Regions from separate parts of the Homo sapiens genome. Here region 2 is linked to region 1. The links are contacts of gene promoters, found by promoter capture Hi-C in human tissues and cell types (Jung and others, 2019). All regions are on one chromosome and are shown on one strand. Each heading gives the region's core, a stretch centred on a gene start or on the middle of the fragment in contact. The rest is flanking DNA. Distances are from core to core; before and after follow the strand shown.

What was found. Contacts are between HindIII fragments. The study calls those that stand out against the background at their distance.
Region 2: a fragment that was not itself captured here is called in contact with the fragment with the promoter of POU5F2 in region 1 in 1 of the 25 tissues and cell types used here (mesenchymal stem cells).

The regions. Positions count from the first base shown.
Region 1 is chr5:93,739,772-93,743,468 of GRCh38, forward strand. POU5F2 (POU domain class 5, transcription factor 2) reads right to left here and starts at 1,829. Exons shown (of 1, transcript NM_153216.2): 1 at 1-1,829. The coding sequence starts at 1,792. The coding sequence ends at 806. All of the region lies in intron 10 of ARB2A (ARB2 cotranscriptional regulator A), which reads right to left. The HindIII fragment of the contact is 4,314 bases long and covers 1-3,697 here.
Region 2 is chr5:92,559,206-92,562,902 of GRCh38, forward strand. LOC105379082 (a long non-coding RNA gene) reads right to left here. Exons shown (of 4, transcript NR_188298.1): 3 at 594-828. Among named protein-coding and RNA genes, the nearest start is that of LINC02058, 380 kb to the right of the region's middle. RefSeq lists an enhancer at 1,485-2,141. The HindIII fragment of the contact is 8,223 bases long and covers 1-3,697 here.

The DNA of each region.
Region 1 (3,697 bases), core at 579-3,078:
GTAAGGGAAATTCCCAGGGAACCAAATAGAGGTGAAAACAGGAGGAGTAAGCTACAGCTGGGACCGAAGCTCTGAAGTCCAGCTTGCCAACCTCAGTAACAAAGGAGTTTAGAATACAGTGACTGTGGCAGGACAAGACATAGTCCCATGGGACTACATAAAGTAGGGAGAGGAACTGAGACCCTGACATGAAGCTGGGGCACCAGAAATGAAAAGGTAAATCAGAAAAAAAAAAAAAAAAAAAAATCTTCCAAGAAAGCTCAGGTGTTTCAGCAAGGGCTCTAGGTGGGCTCTGTGTGTTTCTTCCCTATCACATTCTCAAGTCATTCCCTCAAGATAACTATTATCCTGGATTTTGTGTTTGTGTTTACACAGAGTTCTGCTTGATTTTAAGTAAAAAATTGTATACTAAGGTAGTCTTCTGTGACTTGAGTTTTTCACTTAGTATTGTGTTTATGAAAAAATTTAAACCCTATGTTTACTGATAACCACAAGGAATAACAGACACAATATTTAATAAAAAAAGGAACAAAATATCGAAACCATCTATATACTGTAATGTACCTTTAAACCAATGCTAGGGAAAAACAAAGGGAAAACACAAAACTGCAATAAACTTCATCTTCTCTCCCAGGTTTTTCTTGAACAATTCCCACCCCCATTCCCTACTATGTATCCTTAACTTCTTTAGACAGTGAATGAGAAATTAATACTAAAAGCCCTCAAATGAACCCTAGGGACATTTCCTGGGTTTTCCCTTCTTCTCCCCTCTCCAACCGTGCCGTGAAGGGCAAGCCCCTCAGCCCTAAAATCTGAGGAGGCCCAGAGTGGTGGCTGGGGCAGAGGAGTGGGCTACCCCTGCAGAGTAGAGACGTGTATAGTGGGGGATATCCACTGGGAGCCCCAGTCCCAGGTGAAAGCACACTGGTGCTCCTGGGCAAGGAGGCCCGGCTGTCCCCACAATCTCCCGTGGGGAAGCATCATTGGTTGGTCGACTGCCCATCTTGCTGCGGTTATAGAACCAAACTCGAACCACATCCTTCTGCAGCTGGAGGCACCCAGCAATGTGGCTGATTTGCTGGGGTGTGGGCTTAGGGCACCGCTGGAAGAATTTCTCCAGGCTGTTTCCGATTCGTCGCTCTCTGCTTGCCCGTCTCCACTTCCCAGACTGTTGCAGGATCATCTCCATTTTGCATAAGCCCAGAAGGTTCTCTGCTTCCACTTCCTTCAGCCACTTTTTCAGCAGTGGTCGCAGCTTCCACATGTTGGCGACGCTTAGCTGCTGGGCCTCGAAGCGGCAGATGGTCGTCTGGCTAAGCACCTTCCCAAACAGAGCTCCCACAGCGATCCCCACATCGGCCTGCGAGTACCCTAGGCTCAACCTCTTCTGCCTCAACTCCTTGGCCAATTGCTGCAACTCTTTCAGTATGCCCGAGATGTCCTCTGGCGGCGGCAACTTCGGAATGCTCCGCAGGGCAATGTAGGGCCCCGGGAGGGCGCCTTCGGAGGGGCGTCGCAACCAGTCCCCTGCCTCACTAGCTCCAAGACGGGGCCTGCAGGGTGCTATCCAGCCCCGGAATTCGTGTGGCAGGGGACCCAGGGGAATCCTCCACACGTCAGGGCCTGGGCAGATCCCTGGCCTGACTGCCGGCCAGACCATCACCCTGCCAGGGGCCGCCTGGGTGCTCAACCAGGTCAGAGTGTCAACCCGCAGGGGCATCGGCCCTCTGGGGCCGCCCCCACCACTGCCTGGAAGGGGGCAGAAGTGGTTTGAGGGCCTGTGTCCGGCCATGGGTGGAATGGCACCCGCAGCGGCTCTGGTAGGAACTGATGGCCCTCGAGGCTTCAGAACAGCCACCGGCCCCCTCAAGCCCCGCCCCCCAGTGGGCGGAGAAGGCGTTACAAGCCAAGGGTGCCTGTGCGTAGGCGGGGAAATCTGGTAGATCCATAGGAACTCCTGGGTCCTAGGGTTAAGGGAGTGAGCCCCCTACCCTGACCTTTGCTTCCAACTCCCATAGAGGTACAAAGCTCCCTTGTGGGATTTGCATCTCCAAGCTGTCTGGAGTCCCTTACTCACTGCCTCCATCCCCTGCCTGAATAGAACCCAGGTATTTTCTTATGCCTGTTCAGAAACTCTGGACCCTGATCCCCAGGAGCTACCTAACCTCTTGTCTTCACAAATAATTATTAAATATCTATATGCCAGATATTGCTGGGACGACCCCTCAATTCATAAACTGCCCCCTCACTACTATCTTTATGGTCACAAGTACTGCCAACAGTTCCTCTTTGCACATCCCCAGTCCCTGTGCCCTAAGAAACCTAGGCAACCCTGCTTGAGTTTCTAGTTAACATCAGTTTACTACCTCAGATTCTACCCCCGACCCCACCCCCAAACTGCCAGATTCCACTCCCTCCCTGGGGCAGAACTTTGTAACTAATTCCATGTTTCTTCCCCTAGCCTTGAAGGTCCTTTTGTTTCCCATTCTAACCCAGCTTCTTGGTCCAGAGTTTCCTCAACCAACAGAGATCTAGGTGTGTGTCTTCTCTTTCCCACTCTAGAGACAGGTCTCTGAACTGGCCTGACCCACTGTCCCCCACTGAGGATGCTCCCTGCAATATATGACTCACCAACATCAGGCTCCTTTATCCTTAGGCCCTTATCCCACCAGAAACCCAACAATCTTAATTTGTCCCTCCATCATGCCCCTAGCTCAGGCATCCAGTTGTGGGCCCTGTGTGCAGAAAGCTAAGGAGGGAGGGAGAAAGAGAGGCTCTGACCTCAGTTTCAATGTTTCCTAGGAGGAAGAGCACAATGACCTTGGCTAGACAATCATAGCCCTTCATTCTTTAAACCAACCATGATGTGGCTCTGTCCCCACCCACATCTATTGAAACTGGTCTTCTTGAAGTCATCAGTGATTTTTCAGCTGTCAAATCCAATGGCCTTTTAAAAAATCCTCATCCTGCTGTATCTGGCTATAGTGACAACTCTTCTTGCTCCTTCTCCTTTTAAAATTTACATGAAATGGTGATAACAGCCAAATCTGTATTTCAGTTCTGACTTCTCTTCTGATTTCCAGTTTTGTATTTTTCACTGCCCCAAGTCAAATTCATTATCCACACTTCTAAACCTACCTCTCATCCCGGGACTTTTGAACTAGTTATCAATAACTCAGTCATCCAAGCTTAAACCTAGGAGCTGTTCTTGACTTTTTCTGTTCTCCACAGGGTGTCAAATCTTATGTACTGGGACTCCTAAAACATCTGAAGTCTACCATCTCCTTCCTAGCCTCATCTTCCTGGGCCCTTAAATACCTCTTCCTAGATGAAGGCAGCACCTTGAGACTAAATTCAACCCAACACTACAGGTTGGGTTGCAGATATGGCCTTGAAGCAATGGTAAAGGAAAAAGAATCAGAAAATTGGCTGCCATCGCTACAGGCTGTGTACTTAGTTATGTGTCATCTGTATCTCTACTGCAACCCTTGCTAGAATGTGTGCCGGCTATGAGCAGGGTCACTGTCTGTCTTGTTCACTGCTAGATCCTCAGCACGTGGAACTATACCTGGAACATGGAAGGAAGTCAAGCAATATTTATTTAATGTTAAATAAGTGAATCTCTGTAGCATTAATGGTAAAAAGACTTCCATATTTGCCTTCAATTAGATTTTAAGATGACAGTCTATAAAAAACA
Region 2 (3,697 bases), core at 589-3,088, 1.2 Mb before region 1:
TATGCATGCTGCCTGTGAAAATCCAGCCATTTATTTTTATTCAAATCAAAGGGAGGCATTTTTGTTATTAAATAAGTTACTCAAAAACAAACAGCAACAGAGTCCACTTCTTACCAGCATATTCCTGCAAGCCTGATATTCTACATGAATTATCTTAATGAGGAAATATATCCAAGCACTGAATAAGGAATCTTAGATTTCCAGCTTTGACTTTTAGCTACAGCTCACTCACACACAACCTTACAGAATCCCTTAAATCTCCAAGAGCCCATTTCTCATTTTCCTCTGTGCTCCCATGGAGCTGATCCAATGGTTTTTAAGGGAGCTCTGAGCTTGGACAAGCTCTGAAGGGCATGGGGCAAGACAAGAAACGGGCCCTGCGCTCCCTGCTTATCGTCTTGGAAAATAGGTATGATAATATCAGCCTCACCAGGGTCCCATTGCAATTAATGTTTGGAAAATGTTTTGAAATCCCAGAGTTAAGAAAGGCAATACCAGCGTCAATTATTTAAGGGTCTTATTTCTAAAGCACTATTCAAATTGTTTTAAGCCACTTTTTCTAAAAATATATGATACAAAGGCAATTATACTACCTGCAAGCATAAATTGATGTGGTGGTTTTATGGTCTTTTGAAAATTGCCTTAGTAGAATATCTCTGTGACCTGGAACATCTAGTTAAATGAGGAATCTGAGTTTTGTAGACTCGCCCAAACACTTAAACGCCAAAGAGATGAATCTATGGGAAGGGTGCTTTTCTTTGTTGATCTTGATTGCAGTTTCTGCACTTTCCAGAAGGTGATGTTGCTTTGCTTGGCTTCGTTTCAGATCTGAGGAGGGAAGCCAAACAAACAGTGGAAAATGAAGGATGAATAAAAAAAGAAAAGAAAAGAACCTTGGCTTAGGAAAGAGAAAACTTTTACAACCAAAGGCATTACAGAAGGTCTTTGAGTTTCAATAACTTTGTAATCTTCATATCCAACCAATTTTTGCTGTATGAGTATTTCTGAGTCGAACATCCTGGAATTAAAGATAGATTCCAAAGTATTTCTAAACAATGTGTAAAACTGGCATTATTAGAAGTCTTTGAGTATATAGACAAGACGGAAAGTTTAAAATAGGGAAACTAAATTGAGAACAAAGATGTTTCTAAAGATAAATCTATTGCTTGAATTTATTATATAACAACATTTTTTAACTACACAGGTTTGCATTTTACTTGGTACAAATATATCGTTGAAGAGTTCACTTACACATCCAAGCTATTACATACAACTGGGAATGGATGCTCAATGCTGTGTACAAGGTAAAATAGGTCTTTAAAAATATGTATATCCGTTAATGCTAAGCTATATATTTTTCAGGTGTCCTTGTAACTTAGTGTTCTTTTTCTTTTTGCTTTATTTGCAGTTTATTTAATATTTGAAAATACTTTTGTATCAATTAGCAAATTAGCAATTTATCTGGGCGGAAAAACCCCATCTTAGTTACTGAGTTACAAAGTGAATTGTTCTGCAGCTGCAAAATCAAGTGCCTCAGCTGAGTTAATGCTTTTCATTTCTTTTGCATGTGTCAGCATTAATGGAGGCAAGCTTCTATGAAGCCTTGCGTGTGAAGATGGTGCTGAGCAGACTAGATTCAATTCTGTTATATTCAATTCTGTTAAATGCTTTTTGCATTTTTTTTTTTTTTTTTTTTGGAATAAGGCACAAAAGGAGACTTCAGGCTGAACTTCAAGCAAAAGTTAATGCTATTCTCTTTTGGGTTCAACCACCCACTTTGCTTAAGGTCACTAGTTGAGGCTAATGCAGCTCAGAGGGGCTGCAGTAAACTTGGCATCTCCTTGATTAGGCTCCCTGCTGATCTAATACACATACTAGTTCACTTGCCAAGTCAAATAACACATTTAGTGAATTGGAAATAAGATTTAAGTGGGCCAGCACAATGCGGCTTGCCCTCTCATCTTTTTACCGAATCCTTCTCTTTGTATGCAAGGCTGTGAAAACTGCTCTTGTTAGAGGACTTAATCTTCATTTTTTTCCTGTAGATTATTTGGAAACAGGTCAATTGAATGTTGGAGCTGCTAACTCCTCCCACTAAAGAAAGAACCCGCTTGTGGCATACTGATTGCATCATTTAAATGAAAAGCTCCTATTATTAAAGATAAAATACTACAATATAAGGGTTTGTTAGAATTAATTTAAAAATCCTGATATTAAATGCAGTACTTTTTTAACAGTGTGTTTATTTCTTTGTCTTATAGATTCTTTTCTAAAGCATGCTTTGTATTAACTACTGGTGAGTAATAGGAGGGGATGATCATATCAGTATATATTCATCTCCTGTGGCTATTCTGCTGCAGTTAATTCTTAAATACAGTAGGTTATAATAGGGTGACATTTCTATAGTGCCTTTCATAAGAGCAATCTAAAGCATGTCATATAATGTTTGACTTTGAACTATTCAGTTTCTTAGTGACACAAATCTCAGGGTAAATTTATGCCTTCATGGTTTGTTTCCTTAAAAAATATGAGTCATTGTATTTGTTATAGTTTGAAATTTATCATAGATTCACCATAGATTATCAAGTTATCCATGCCATAATAATCTGTAACTGTCCTTATCTGTGTGTTAGATGTGCAGGGTTATGATGTGTGTGGACTTTTTACGATCTACTTATCTCTTCTGGTCATATAGATTTATGTGTATCTCTTTTCTGACTAAATCTGAAATCAGAGCTTGCATTCTGAAGAAACAAAACATATCTATGTAAAATCCAAGTACTATTCCCTGACATCTAAAAGTTAGAGAAAAATGATTATAATACCCTCCACCAAAATAAGGAGGTACTCAATTTCAATTGCATTTTTTACAAAATAAAATGTTAAATGTGTGAAATGTATAATGTACCCTGAGATTAAGCTAAGTATCCCCAGAATGATTTTTAGAGTTACAATAAATAGACTATTTCAAGGGACAGTGTTTGATTATCTAAAATTTACATATTTGCAACAGTTGTTTCTGAGTGGAAAGGATTTATTTACTTAGCCAAAGCAAATAGCTTTTCTATGAAATGTGAAATAGGTTATACTGTTTATACTGTGTTTAGTCATTACATTTCATTCCTCAAAATGAGTACCAGATCTCTGTACTGTGTAATGAATATCCTCACAGTTTGTAAAACAATGTTAGTAATAATAATAAAGAATTGATCAATTTAATATTCTAATCTGGACTTCAATTTGAGGTTGTTGTTCTATCCAAAAGCACTTTGTAAATTCTAGAGAACTACACAAATGTGAGATCATTGCTATATTTTTCATCTCCTCTACTATATTTTACCTGTTTCTTTTACTTGTTTTGGACACCAGTAATGTTAAAACTCATCTCTAATAGGAAAAAGCAGAAAAATTGAAAAGATTACAAATGGTAAAATTATGATTAAACATAAAATTATTATGAAAAATGGCAGACTCCTACAATAGTCTGAGTTTTGTTTTTTGTATTGGTAAGAATTACACTTTTTTTTTGTTTTTTTGTTTTGTTTTATTTTGTTTTGGATGCCTTAGCTACAGATAGATGGCATCTAACCTCAAGGTAAGATTTTACTGCAGGAAGGCATTTTTACCTCATTACAGTTTGTCAGTAGAGAAAATATTTGTGGCATATTGATGTTCTACTGGTTAGAAAATATGTTTC